Linked DNA regions of Homo sapiens: all the other regions are linked to region 4. The links are contacts of gene promoters, found by promoter capture Hi-C in human tissues and cell types (Jung and others, 2019). All regions are on one chromosome and are shown on one strand. The core of a region is centred on a gene start or on the middle of the fragment in contact, and the rest is flanking DNA. Distances in the headings are between cores, read along the strand shown. Region 1 holds the start of AP2A2 (adaptor related protein complex 2 subunit alpha 2). Region 2 holds the start of IRF7 (interferon regulatory factor 7). Region 3 holds the start of HRAS (HRas proto-oncogene, GTPase). Region 4 holds the start of TALDO1 (transaldolase 1). Region 5 overlaps CHID1 (chitinase domain containing 1).

Region 1 (2,700 bases), core at 142-2,641, 180 kb after region 4:
AGGGACTCCGGAGGGGTGTACCGTCCTCCAGGAAGCCCTCTGCTGGGTCGGCTCCGTGCCTCTGTCTTGGGAAGTGATGGACTTGGTTGCCTTATGCTGACTGGGGTCTGTCACAGATCTTGGTTTTCCCCAGGAGTTCTGGAGGCCCAGAGCCTGGGTGCGGCACCCGGTTCATTGGGGAGGGGCATGGGTCCTGTGCCCTCCTCCTGGCCGGGCTCCACCAGGGCTAAGCTCTCATCTGGGGCTGCGGAAGTGAGCCAGGGTGGGGACAAAGCCCTGGCTGGTGGGTCTGGGCCAGTTCCAGGTACAGGGTCCAGATCCCCCCACTGCAGCAGGAGGGAGCTTCCTGTTCAAAGCCATCTGGCTCTGGGAAGGACAGTGAGGCAGGGCCATCTGCTTCCCCACTCCCTGGGGTCTCTTCCTGGCCGGGACCTGGAGCTGTGCAGCCTGGCCCAGCAGGTCCTCCCTTGCGATGTGTCCACAGGGGTGGGCCTAGGCCTCCAGCTTGCAGTGGTGCAGAGGGCTGGGGAGCAGAGGGGGCCCTGGCAACAGTGGCCAAAAGTCCTGGCGCCGCCGAGGGACTAGATTCCGCAGGGGCTGCCGCCCCCGGCCGCTGTCACTGGGGTGGGGTGGGTGGTTGTTTCTCTGCAGGCCCAGGTGATGTGGAGGGGGCACCTGGGCTGCCACACAGACCCTGGGCTGGGTCGGGCACGGGGCCTGCCTCGCCCCCAGCTCAGGGACCGCAAGAGATGTGGCCCTGGCGGCTCAGGGCGGCAGGAGGGGCGGGCCAGCCCCACCGTCTCAGGATACCGTGCTAGGGGAGGGTTTCCTCGCCAAAGGCCGTCCAGCGGCTGTGACCCCTTCGCCTGGAGCCCCAGCTTCCTCCCGGCGCCGCCCTCCCGCCCCGGCCCCCGCGGAACAAACAAGGCCCTGGCCTCGGAGCTGCCCCGCCGCCCAGCGCTCACAGGTCGTTTATTCCAAGTAAGAAAACGGAGACTGCTCGGGGCAAGCTAGCGGGGCCGAGGCCCAGGACGAGGCCGTACGCGTGTGCCTGCGTGGCCGCCTCTTTTGCAGTGACCACCAACAACGACAGAGGCGGCCCGCTGCACACGCGGGTTCCCGCCCGGACCCACGCCCTTCCCGTGGGGGACGCGGGCGGCATCGCCAGCTTGGCGCGGCCCCGGGACGCGAACGCGTGGCTTCAGCGGCTCCGTCCATGGTGTCCGCCTGCAGGGGGCGCCCCCGCGCCTGCCTCGACCGGCTCGCCCCCGTGCCGCGGACGCGCGCGCGCTGCCTCACGCGACACCCGCCCCGGCCGCCGTCCGTCGTCGCTCGCGTGCGTGCGCGTGCGTGCTGGTGCGGGCGCCGTACGTGCGCGCGCGCGGCGGCCCAGAAAGCGGCGCTGGGACCCTGAGGCGGCCGTGGTTAGGCGGCTCCCCGGCGGCTCCTCCGCGGCGGTGACGGCGACCGCACTCCCCGCTTCCCGCTCCCCGCGCTCCTCCGCCCGGGTCCGCCAGCCGAGGCCGCTCCCGAGCGTCGGAAGATGCCGGCCGTGTCCAAGGGGGACGGGATGCGGGGCCTGGCGGTCTTCATCTCGGATATCCGCAACTGTGAGTGGCGGGGGCGGCGTGGGGCCGGGGCCGGGGCCGCCGGCGGAGACGGGGTCTGGGAGCGGAGGCCCGGGGCGGGGCCTCGAGGCGGGGGTGCAGGCTGGGATGCGGGCGGGGCCCGGGGCCTGAGGGTGCGGGCGGCGCTCGGGGTCTTGGGGTACCGGGTCTGGGGGTGGGGGCCAGGGTGCGGGGTGGGGGTCCAGGGTCTGGGGGTGCGGGCGGCGCTCAGAGTCTTGGGGTATCGGGTATGGGGGTGCGGGTCAGGATGCAGAGCGGGGCCCTGGGTCTGGGGGTGCGGGGTGGGGTGTCCAGGGTCTAGGGGTGCGGGGTCTAGGGGTTTAGGGCACGGCCCTTCATCCACATCTCCACTCCCGTTTGCTGGTCCGTGCGGGGGGCTGCGGCACCACCAAGGGGGTTCCGGGCCAAGACGCCCCTCCCCAGCATGATGTCACCTTGGTCTTTCTAGTACTGGAGCGTTTAACCCAGCGTTTTCCAAAACGGCGTGGATTTTAGCTTTGGGAGCAGAAATCTGGAAATCAGTGTCTTCCCAGGAAACAGCTTTGTGACCTGGGTTCTGGAGGCTTATTAACCCCTGATTAGATCTCACCTACGACGATTAAAATGACTCATTCCCGGAGGGAATCTGGACACGAGCAGCAGTCGGGGTGTGGGATGGCCTCGCTGCCTGCTGCTCCAATCACAGACCTCGTTCTCAGCCCCGTGCCTGTCCCCTCGGGGTGGGAAAAATCCACACCAAACCGTTAAACAAGCCAGGAAGGCTGGGCCTGTTAGAAGGATGTGCAGGGTGGCTGGGTGGGTGCACCGGTCCACCAATTAATTTGACTTTGGTGTGCAGAACCTCCTCTTGGCTTTCAGAGGCCATCTCCTTATTTAATTTGAGGGAGAAACAAAGCCAGTTTCCTGTCTGCTGCGTTGATTTTTTTCCTTGTTATCCAGCAAATAGTTGACTTCATGATTTTTGTTTTTCTTTTTTTTGAGACAGGGTCTTGCTCTGGCTCTCAGGCTGGAGCGCAGTAGTTCCATCACGGCGCACTCAACCTCCCACCTCAAGTGATCCTACCACCTCAGC
Region 2 (2,526 bases), core at 27-2,526, 130 kb before region 4:
GTCCTGGGCCTGCTGGCAGCCTCTCCCAGAACAGCTTCTAAAACCACAAATCTGACCCAGAGAATGTTCCCCTTTGCCCAAGCAGGACGAATGCCAACGCCCTTGGCAGCCGGCGTCGCTCACCTCGCCAGCACAGCTCCCGGCTGAGCGCGTACACCTTGTGCGGGTCGGCCGGGTCCCCCGAGTTATCCCGCAGCATCACGAAGCGACGCGTGCTGCGCAGTGCGCAGCGGAAGTTGGTTTTCCAGCCGGCGCGCTCCGCAGTCTCAGCCTCGGGGGGCGGGCCACCTCCCCTGCTGCTAGGCGGCCACCTGCCGCGGGCCACAGCCCAGGCCTGAAGAGGGGGACAGAACACGTGTGCCGGGCCCGCGGGGTCCTAGGCGGGCTCTCCCACCCGGGGCGGGGCGGGGCTGGGGTCCCCACCTTGAAGATGCGCGCGTCGGCCTCGCTCAGGTCCTTGCGCGCGAAGTGCTTCCAGGGCACGCGGAAACAGGTGCGGGCCTCGTCCAGCCACTGCAGCCCCTCATAGCAGCCGCTGCTGATCTCTCCAAGGAGCCACTCTCCGAACAGCACGCGTGGGGCTGCCCTGCGGGTGCCCGGCCGCGGAGAGTCAGGGCCGGCTGCAGGGCGCTCGGGGACTGGCATCTGGAGAGGGTGGGCCGGGCTCTTACCTCTCAGGAGCCAAGGCCATTGCTCCTTCTGCAGGGGCAGTTAGGTGGCGGTCAGGTGTTATAACAGGGGAGGTAAGGGCTCCTGTCGCAGCAGACGCCAGGCCGCGGCCACAGGTCGTGTGGCCAGGTGTCACAGGTGTCCACAGGTGTGGACTGAGGGCTTGTAGCCACCGACGCTGCCTCGGTATGGATCTCTTGGCAGAGGGGGCTACAGGTGTGACTGCAGGTGTGGCCGGCGCGCACACATGAAGTCACAGGTGTTGAACCAGTGTCCAGGCCTGGCGGGAAGGCGCAGGCCGGACCCTGCGGAGACGGGAAAGGCGACGTCAGGGGCGGGTCAGGCTCCCGGGAAAGCGAAACCTAAACAGTGGCGCTTCGCACCCTCCTCGATCCCACCCCGTCCGGTTCTCAGCTCCGCGGAACCCCGCCTCCGCCTCCGCCTCCCTCCCCGCCCGACCCTCATCTCTCAGGCTCCCCCAGCTCTTGGCTCTACCCCTCCGGGGTCACGGAGCCCCCACGGAGGCTCTCGCTCCCGGCCTGCACCGCGTGGGTCTGGGGTCCCCAGTACCTGGGTGCCAGAGCCGCCGGGACGGGAAGTTTCGTCTCGCGGGGAAGCGGAGGGCCGGCGCTTTTATGGTGGCCAGGCGGGAGTTTCCGGGAAGGGCGCGCGCCGCCTGTTCTTATTATTGGATGCGACCAGCGGAACCCCGCCCCGGCCAGCGCGGAGTAGGGAGGAGTGGAGGGCGTTGGGAGTGGCTGCAGTGAGCCGAGATGGAGCCACTCCACTACAGCCCAGGGGACAGAGCAAGACTCAGTCTCAAAAAAAAAAGGAAGTGGGTAATGGGAGGTGGACGTGCCTCGAAAAAGGGGCAGCTGCACCGTTTGCGTTTCTTTTTTTGAGATGGAGTTTCGCTTTTGTTACCCAGGCTGGAGTGCGGTGGCACAATCTTGGCCCACCACAACCTCCGCCTCCCGGGTTCAAGTGATTCTCCTACCTAAGCCTCCCGAGTAGCTGGGATTACAGGCATGAACCACCACGCCCGGCTAATTTTGTATTTTTAGTAGAGACGGGGTTTCTCTATGTTGGTCAGGCTGGTGTCGAACTCCCGACCTCAGGTGATCTGCCCACCTCGGCCTCCCAAAGTGCTGGGATTTAGGCGAGAGCCGCCGTGCGCAGCCCCCTTTGGGTTTTTTACATTGTTCAGTCAAGAATATCAGATACTCTCACAATTAAAACATTTGGAAAGGAATTAATGGTGTATTTCCATTAGGGAAAGTGCTGACAAGCCGCAAGGGATCCCTTGATGGTTCTGGGCATGGGCGCCCAGCCTGGGCTCTGGCTTTGGGAGCAGCGAGGGGAATGTGTCTCTCACCCCTAGGCCTCCTGGTCTGGCTCCTGCTCAGGCCACACGGCGCACCCACCCCCAGCGCGCCTCAGTCCAGGTCACTGGGCAGGGTGTTTACTGCTGCGCTCCAACCCAAGCATGTAGATTTCAGAAGGGGACTAGGACCCCCGGCAGGTGTTTGAGACCACCGGCTCCCAAGTGCGTCGCCTTGGGGGTTTGCATCGGCTCCTCAGCCTCCCCAGGCAATCTCTGTGTAGGGTCGGGAGCGGGAGGTCTGAGATGAGCCGGGTGCCTGAGATCTCCGGTGCAGGTCGGGGGAGGGGAGCCCCCCTCGGGCTGTGGTTAGAGCGGGAGAGGAACTTCCCAGACTAGCTGGCACAGAGCCTCGGGAAGGCGGCGGGCACTGCAGGTGGTTTACGGGAAGTGCTGCAGCCTTGGGGTGGGGACAGCGTGGCCAGACCCACCGCCTCATCTGCACACCTGGGCTCAAGCGCTAATGACGACAGGGG
Region 3 (2,700 bases), core at 201-2,700, 210 kb before region 4:
CAGGGGCTGCAGCCAGCCCTATCCTGGCTGTGTCCTGGGCTCGCCCGCAGCAGCTGCTGGCACCTGGACGGCGGCGCCAGGCTCACCTCTATAGTGGGGTCGTATTCGTCCACAAAATGGTTCTGGATCAGCTGGATGGTCAGCGCACTCTTGCCCACACCGCCGGCGCCCACCACCACCAGCTTATATTCCGTCATCGCTCCTCAGGGGCCTGCGGCCCGGGGTCCTCCTACAGGGTCTCCTGCCCCACCTGCCAAGGAGGGCCCTGCTCAGCCAGGCCCAGGCCCAGCCCCAGGCCCCACAGGGCAGCTGCTGGCAGGGCCATCTGAAGGGCAAACCCACAGCGGTCCCTGGGCCCCAACGCCAGGCAGCAAGGACTGCAGCGTGCCTACCTGTGCAGCTGCAACCCAGCGTGCGGGAGGGCTGTCGCCTCGCCCCCACTTGCTCTTAATGACCCAGTGATGGGAAAAGGGACCCAGCCCTCAAAGGCAGGGCTGACAGCTGAGCGCTCTCAACCACGCACCCAAATTAGAAGCTGCTGGGTCGGCAGAAAGGCTAAAGGGAGGCGCCCGAGGGCTGAGGTTACCGTCCTCCAGAACAGGTCTGGCCACGGCGGAGCGCGCCACGGCGTGCCCGGGCAGGCTAGTGCCAGCCTGCAGGCCCCGCGGCGCTGGTGCCTCCGACAAGTATTTGCTGAGCGCCTACTGCGTACTAGGCGCCGCCGAGGGGAGGGCAGACCCGGGCAGCGCCCCGCACCCCCGGCGGGGAACCGGGGGCATCTTTCAGCCACAGAAAGCTGGAGAAGACAGAGGAGCTCCTGGGAAGCAGGGACTGAGCGACAGGAAGGGGCCGAGAAGCGGCGCGGGAGACCCGGAGAGGGAAAAGGCACTGGGGCTGAGGCCCCCGGCCTGGTCCGCGACCTGTGATGCTGAATCGGGGGTGCCCGGGCGTGCCGTGGCCGCGGCCGCCTCCTCCCAGACGCCCCCGGGTGTGAGGGCGCCGGGCCCGAGGCTCCCGGGTACGCCGGCGTGGGGACCGTGCCCAGCGCGAGGCCACGGGTGGGGCCCGGATTCCCGCAGGCCCCAGGGAGGAAGGGGCCCCCGCCCGCCGCAGCCCCCGACGCCCGCTCACCTGTGCCCGCGGGCCCCGCCCGGCCCCACCCACCCGCCGCCGCCGCCGCCGCCGCCGCTTACGCCCGCCGGCCCCGCGCCCCCGGCCCGCGCCGCGCGTATTGCTGCCGCCTGGGGGCGAGGAGGGCGCGCGGCCCGGCCGATCCCTGCCCGCACTCACCGTTCACAGGCGCGACTGCCCCCGGGGCCAGGGCCGGGGCCGAGGCCGGGGCGGGGCGGGGGCGGGGGCGCGCGGTTCGCCCCGCGCATGGGCTCCGTCCGCGGCGGGTGCGGCTCGGGTTGCGGGCGCAGGGCACGGGCGGCGGAGACTCGGGCGGGCCTGCGCACGCCCCGCCCCGCGCCCGTCCGTCTGCCAGGCGCGGCCTACCATTGGCTGCGCGCCATCGGGCCCCGCCCCACCCCGGTTGGCTGAGCGGCCCGTCTGTCAGGAGCCGCGGTCGGGCGGGGCTTCCGGGAGCAACGCGGGAGGCGGAGCCAGTAGGGCCGCGGCCTCTCGGGGTTGGGCTTGGCTGGAGACCGGAGCCGAGCTCGGGGTTGCTCGAGGAAGGCCAGGGAGCCGGTGTCTGGGGGCCCGGGGCGGCATCTCCGAGCAGGGCCCCGGGCTCTCCCGGGAACAGGCCGGCGAGAGAACCCGACTCAGCGGTGCCGGTGCACCAGAGGCCCTCCCTGCGCCGGCAGCGCGGCGCCGCCCACCGCGGAGGTCCCGGGGCTACGGGCTGGGGAAAGGCTGGGATCCGCCGGGACCAAGGCGGGATGCTCGGAGCTGGGGGCCCCCGGGTGGCCGCGGGGTCCGGTTGCCCGGCTGCCCTTCCGCGCAGGTGGAGCGGCCGCGCACCCCACCTACCACCACGCACCCCAGCTCCCCTACTCCCACCGCAACCCACCCCGAGGACGCTTGCAGCCCCGGTGGGGTTCCGGGCGGCGGGCGCAGCCGTGTGCCCTGGGGCCAGGCGTGAGAACGCCCCCTCCACCACTCTCCTCTTTCTCGGGCCTGCGTGGCAGGCGACCCTGCCCGCCCAGTCCCCCCAAACTTGAGGTTCCAACGCTGCAGAAGCTCAGCGTGGTCCAGTTAAACCGTACCCACAAGTTGCCACAGGGGAGCGAAGTGCCCAGGGCTCACCCCAAGCACATAGACGCACATCCTAGCTCTTTCAAACCCAAAAAGACATGTTTTTAACATTTTTTAAAATTGCAAAGGAATCAGAAATACATCCTCATTAAAAAACAAAAAGGGCCGGGCGCGGTGGCTCACGCCTATAATCCCAGCACTTCGGGAGGCCTAAGCGGGTGGATTACTTGAGGTCAGGAGTTCAAGACCAGCCTGGCCAACATGATGAAACCCTGTCTCTACTAAAAACACAAAAAATTAGTCGGCTGCAGTGGCGCGCGCCTGTAGTCCCAGCTACTCGGGAGGCTGAGGCAGGAGAATCGCTGGAACCCGGGAGGCGGATGTTGCGGTGAGCCGAAATCGCGCCACTGCACTGGGCAACAGAGCGCTACTTCGTCTCAAAACAAAAAAGGCGTTTTACAGTCAGGCAAACCCTGCCTCTGCCCAGTCCAGCGCCCGCCT
Region 4 (2,700 bases), core at 28-2,527:
GGCGGATCACGAGGTCAGGAGATCGAGACCATGCTGGCCAACATGATGAAACCCCGTCTGTACTAAAAATACAAAAATTAGCCGGGCGTGGTGGTGAGCGCCTGTAATTCCAGCTACTCGGGAGGCTGAGGCAGGAAAATCGCTCGAACCCGGGAGGCGGAGGTTGTAGTTAGCCAAGATCGCGCCACTGCACTCCAGCCTGGGCAACAAGGGCGAGATTCCGTCTCAAAAAAAAAAAAAAGTCTTTTCAGGTTTTTGCATTTCTGACAACCGGATGGCCCCACCTGGACCTGCCAACCAGTTGTGTGGCCTCTACCCAGGGACTGACTCAGCATAAGCGGACAGCTTCGACTCCCTGTGATTTCATCCCTAGCTGACCAGTCAGCACTTCTGACTCACTGGCCCCCTACCCACCAAATTATTCTTAAATACTGGGATCCCCGAGTTTTGGGGAGACTGATTTGAGGAATAAAACTCTGGTCTCCCGAACAATCGGCTCTGTGTGAATTATGCTTTCTCTATTGCAATTCCCCTGTCTTGACAATAGACTCTGTCCCGGCAGCTGGCAAGGCGAACCCATGGGGCGGTTACAGTGTCTGCAACGCAGACACAAGCGACAGAGACTTGATCAGAATATACAAGGAACTCTGCAAGTCAGCGATGGTAAGAAGCAGGGCAGCTGGGCCTCCTACGCCTGCCTCGCCGTTCGGTCCCCCGGACACCTCTGGGCTTAGGACTCAGGGGAACAGATTCCCAGAAGCAGGTTCCCCGCCGCGTCCGGCGCCCGGGCTCTGCAGCCGCCCCCTGCTCTGCCTCCTGCACCCGCAGGGCGTCCCCCGCCGCTCCCTCCCCTGCTTCCTGCAGCGGCCCCCGACCCCAGTCCTGGCCCCACCATGGATCCTGCATCGCCGGGTTCGGCCCTGGCGGGTTCAGCCCCGCAGAGTCGGCACCCGGGCCAGGTCCATCTCCTCCAGCCCTCCCGGTGCGTCCCGCGGGGCAGGAAGGAGGCGAGGCCCAGCCGCCCCGTGTCGTGCAGGTGTTTTCCCGGGCCCGTCCGCGGCGGCTGCTGAGGACCTGGGGAGACCCAGCCTGTAGGATCCGCAGCTGCGGTGCGCGGCCGGCAGTGGCGCTCGGGCTTCGTCCCCGGGGGCGGGGCTTCGTCCAGGCGCGCAGGGACCAGCGGGCCTCGCCCTCCCGCGCCGCTTTCCGATTGGCAGCCGCCCGCGGGGCATTGTGGGCCGTCCGCGCGCCCGTCCCGTCGCCGCCGCCGCCGCCGCAGACCCCTCGGTCTTGCTATGTCGAGCTCACCCGTGAAGCGTCAGAGGATGGAGTCCGCGCTGGACCAGCTCAAGCAGTTCACCACCGTGGTGGCCGACACGGGCGACTTCCACGGTGAGGACGGCGCGGAGCCCGGGCGCGGCGCAAGCGCCCTCCAGAGGCCCCGGCGCCCCGATTTCCCCGGGTCTCCCGTTCCGGGACGCGGACCGGGTGGCGGTGCCCCGGGCGGCTCGTTCCGGGAGGAATGAGCGCAGGTGCCGGATGTTGGGGCCAGGGACAGCCGTGAGGGGAGCGGGGCCCGGGTCGGCCGTGAGAGGCGCAGGGCCAGCGGCGACCGTGAGGGGAACGGGGCCCGGGTCGGCCGTGAGGGAGCAGGGCCGGGGGCAGCCGTGAGGAGCTGGGGTCAGCCGTGAGGGGCTCGGTGCTGGGGTCAGCGGTGCGGGCGGTACTGACGGGTCCTTGCGAGCCGTGGGGCACGAAGCCGGAGCCCCAGCCTCGCCCTCCGCCCAGGGTGGGGTCGGCTGCGCCCTCAGACCCCGCACCCGGGACGGGCTGTGGGCAGCCCGCGGGAGCCCCTCTGTGCACCTTCATGGGTCGAGGCAGCTTTCAGAGCCTTTGAGTTCAGGAGAGATTCAGGGTAGAGCTTCGAGCTGACTTCCACGTGGCCAGTTTGTGGTCAGCGAGATGCAATTTTGTTGGGCTGATGTCTGCAGAGCGGGGACATCAGCTAGCTCTGACCAGAAGCTGCCAGTGCTGCCATCGCCCTTGAGCCCTGCGGTGCCCAGTGGGACAACTCCGTGGGCGGCAGGTGCCCGGCCTGCTGGACAGCCACCGCCAGACGCACCGGGTGGGTAAAAGCCGGTGCCCATGAAAGCACAGGGTTGGTACACTGTTAAATACTGGATTTTCCTGGGCTTGAGTTGTTTACATTGGAGAGAACTTGGAAAATACAAAGAAGGATTATTTATTAATACTTAGCTCTTCTGTCCTCTGCAGTGCAGAGTAGACGAGCCTTGTGTCTATGTTTTGTTGAGAACAAGTAATATTTTTTAAGAAAATCATGAAACGCTTCATGGATGAATGCTGCGAGCACCTAATACGGAAGTGACTTCCTCTCTTTTCTGCTTTCTCATGGTGACTTGAGAAACAGGCTTTAATTCCTCTTTGGTAACTGAGTAAGGGCATTGTTTATCTAGCAGAGCCTAGAGAGTGAATTGGCATGTTTGGCTGCTTAACCATAAAATATGGGGATTCAGTGACTGGCTTGGGGTGCCACAGTCTGCTCCGGACCCCTCTTTGGGAGATCCAAAGCTAGAGCTGTGAATCCCTCACACACACAGCCCCCCCGTTGTAGTCCAGACCTCTCTTCATAAGAAAGAAAGCTCCAGAAAAGGGGCTACACATTTTTCTGCTGCTCAGTTT
Region 5 (2,700 bases), core at 62-2,561, 160 kb after region 4:
TCTGTATCTTCTGGTCTTCCTGCACTAAACTTTTATTACACTGTTCACTTTCAGGTTCTAGGGGCCACCAACAAAAGTGATTCTACTTTCCGGCCGGGCGCGGTGGCTCACGCCTGTAATCCCAGCACTTTGGGAGGCCGAAGCGGGCAGATCACGAGGTCAGGAGATCGAGACCATCCTGGCTAACACGGTGAAACCCCATCTCTGCTAAAAATACAAAAAATTAGCCAGGCATGGTGGCAGGCGCCTGTAGTCCCAGCTATTCGAGAGGCTGAAGCAGGAGAATGGTGTGAATCCAGGAGGTGGAGTTCGCAGTGAGCCGAGATAGTGCCAGTGCACTCCAGCCTGGGCGACGGTGCGAGACTGTCTTTAAAAAAAAAAAAAAAGTGATTCTACTTTCTATCTTTCACTGGGGTTGGGGGCAGCGGCGGTGGGAGCTGAACCACCACCATAGCCCAGCCAGACTGTTAGTCCTTCATGAAGCTTTGGGACACTGCTGGGAAGAAGCTCTTGGCTAGTTTCACAGCTCTGGCAGCACAGACCCCTCTAGACCAGCTGAGAGGCCCACACAGCCTGGGCAGAGGCAGATACCTGACAGGTGGGGAGCTCAGCCCAACTCACTACCCAGCAGCTGGGCACATGGCCTTCCCCTTGGGTCACAGGCTCCTGAGTATATGGGAGCTCAGGCCCAAGAGGCTCCAGGAACCCCAGCCAGGCAGGTGCACCTGTCAGAAGATGCTGCCAGAGCCAGGCCTACCACAGTGCCTACCCTCCTACCCAAAAGACTCCCTGGCCAGGAACCTGTTTTCACTTCCTCTGAAACCGTCCCCTTGACCTGCTTTCTTCTGCAGAGGCACACGCTGCCCCACTTTGCCCTGTCTCTTCCCTGGGTGAGACTGGTGCTCCTGGTGCAGACTGAGGAGACTGTGGCTACCCCCAGGCAGGGAGTTTGCATGCTTTGGTACCCAATACACCCACAACACACCTGCATAGAAAGAACACGCTCCTGGAGCAAGATCAACCAGTGAAGCTCCCCCACCTAGGAGGCAGGGAGCCACAAGACAGCCTGACCTGCAGGCTTATGGGGAGTTAGGAAGGGAACTCACAGGGCAAGCACAGCAGCACCCAGTACATGGAGCCACAGGCAAAGGCAGTGAGTGCTTGAACAGCCACGGCAGTTCCGAGAGGCTGTGCAGGGGGAATAAGAAGGCCCAGGCACAGATCACCACCCTCTGCCCCGATCAACCTCTCCAGCCCCTCTCCTCAGTGATACATCCCAGAATCAGAACCAAGGGCAGCAGCCTGCTGCCACCTCCCCTTAGCCCCACTATCTTTCTGCTGCAGCTGAGGCTTGGTCTGAGTCAGCAACAGCCCCAGGGAAGGTGGGGAGGGTTCTGGCCATGGCACAGGGAAGACGGCCCAGAATCACTTGCCTGGCCAGGCTGAAACGGTGGCTGCCTCAGCTCCCAGGCACCCAGTCTTTGACCCCAGCCCATTCCATGACCACTGGCTCCTTCTCTGTCTTCTGGGTGGAAATCTGGGTCAGGGAGGAAGGAAAGGAATGAAAAACCAAACGGTGGTTCTCCAGGGGACTGGCCCAGGAGTAACTGGAGGGCACACTCAGGTACCCAGTGACCAACCACTATAGGGCTGGGTCTCTGCCCCTACCTGCCGTCCTGCAGATTTGAAACAGGGCCACTGTCCACCCACCTAGTGGCCCCTCTGCCTATGACCTCCCTGCCCCCCAACCTGTGATTTCACACTTCAGGGAAGGAAGAGGAAAGGGTGGAAGAGGAAGACAGTCCTGCCAGCATGTGTCCAGCAGAGGGGACACTAGGAGAACCTAACTGAACACAAGGCCAGGGTACTGCCTCTGTCCACTCGCGCTTAACTTGCCCGCTCTGTGATGGAGTGCTTGGATACAGGCTGCTCACAAATGCTGGGCTGCTTCTTTGACTTGCCATGGAACTTTCCAGACAACTGCCCCAGGGAGATGGTGTGTGTGATGTGTGAGGGGTGCTCACACTGCAACCAGGCCCTTGTCTGGGCTTTGGTACCTCTCCCGCTCCCCACTGCTCACCGGCCGCTCGGCTCTGAGGCCCGTGAGGACACTCTCCATCATGCTCTTCACATAACACAGACTCCCAGGTTCACACACACTGTGTTCCTGCATCAAACCGTTTCTTCCCCAAATGCCAATGACCTTCCCTTGGGCAGAACGGCCCCGCACACAAAGGGAATGTGTTGTGTTATGAAGAGGCACAGGCCCCGACCCTGGTCACCCAAAGGGGTCCCAGAAACCGCTCTGTAACAAGATAAGGTGGAGCGCTACTGCTCCCACTTTCCTGCGCTCCCAGTCCGTAGGTCCAGGACCTCCTCGGTGGTGTTGATGGAAATGATGGGAGTCACAGCAGGGGCTTTCCAATGCTTTTCATGGAGACCAGCAGTAAGAAATGCACTTTACGTCACAGCCCAGCACACGTGTATGTCATGTGTGCACATGTGTTGTGCATGTGTGTACATGTGTAGAGCGACAGCAGCCAATCAGAGCTAACTCTATTCTGCGATGGACGCACTGACAACTCCTGTTCTGTTGTGTTTTGAAGAACTAACTGGTGCATGGCGGCTCTGGCCTGTGATCCTAGCACTTTGGGAGGCCAGGAGTTTTTGACTGGTTTTGGCAACACAGCCAGACCTGGT

The links. The method cuts DNA at HindIII sites, captures the fragments that hold promoters and counts their contacts. A contact is called where the count stands out against the background at its distance.
Region 1: a contact is called between the fragment with the promoter of AP2A2 here and the fragment with the promoter of TALDO1 in region 4, in 1 of the 25 tissues and cell types used here (spleen).
Region 2: the fragment with the promoter of IRF7 here is called in contact with the fragment with the promoter of TALDO1 in region 4 in 9 of the 25 tissues and cell types used here (H1 embryonic stem cells, IMR-90 fibroblasts, adrenal gland and 6 more).
Region 3: a contact is called between the fragment with the promoter of HRAS here and the fragment with the promoter of TALDO1 in region 4, in 4 of the 25 tissues and cell types used here (dorsolateral prefrontal cortex, heart left ventricle, lymphoblastoid cells and 1 more).
Region 5: a fragment that was not itself captured here is called in contact with the fragment with the promoter of TALDO1 in region 4 in 3 of the 25 tissues and cell types used here (dorsolateral prefrontal cortex, lymphoblastoid cells and spleen).

The regions. Positions count from the first base shown.
Region 1 is chr11:924,479-927,178 of GRCh38, forward strand. AP2A2 (adaptor related protein complex 2 subunit alpha 2) reads left to right here and starts at 1,392. Exons shown (of 22, transcript NM_012305.4): 1 at 1,392-1,610. The coding sequence starts at 1,544. RefSeq lists a silencer at 1,204-1,743. The HindIII fragment of the contact is 16,179 bases long and covers 1-2,700 here.
Region 2 is chr11:614,674-617,199 of GRCh38, forward strand. IRF7 (interferon regulatory factor 7) reads right to left here and starts at 1,277. Exons shown (of 11, transcript NM_001572.5): 1 at 1,240-1,277; 2 at 672-974; 3 at 424-586; 4 at 124-334. The coding sequence starts at 691. It overlaps CDHR5 (cadherin related family member 5), which reads right to left. Exons shown (of 15, transcript NM_021924.5): 15 at 1,910-2,526. RefSeq lists an enhancer at 139-733. The HindIII fragment of the contact is 18,510 bases long and covers 1-2,526 here.
Region 3 is chr11:534,126-536,825 of GRCh38, forward strand. HRAS (HRas proto-oncogene, GTPase) reads right to left here and starts at 1,451. Exons shown (of 6, transcript NM_005343.4): 1 at 1,291-1,451; 2 at 87-250. The coding sequence starts at 197. It also overlaps a transcript of LRRC56 not described here. RefSeq lists enhancers at 1-524, 525-1,381, 1,403-2,110 and a silencer at 388-547. The HindIII fragment of the contact is 24,710 bases long and covers 1-2,700 here.
Region 4 is chr11:746,187-748,886 of GRCh38, forward strand. TALDO1 (transaldolase 1) reads left to right here and starts at 1,278. Exons shown (of 8, transcript NM_006755.2): 1 at 1,278-1,392. The coding sequence starts at 1,296. LOC105376509 (a long non-coding RNA gene) reads left to right here. Exons shown (of 3, transcript XR_930962.3): 3 at 563-776. RefSeq lists enhancers at 262-910, 549-608, 911-1,559 and silencers at 739-1,338, 1,399-1,688, 1,789-1,878. The HindIII fragment of the contact is 22,782 bases long and covers 1-2,700 here.
Region 5 is chr11:907,109-909,808 of GRCh38, forward strand. The region is part of intron 1 of CHID1 (chitinase domain containing 1); the gene reads right to left. Among named protein-coding and RNA genes, the nearest start is that of CHID1, 2.4 kb to the right of the region's middle. The HindIII fragment of the contact is 5,018 bases long and covers 1-2,700 here.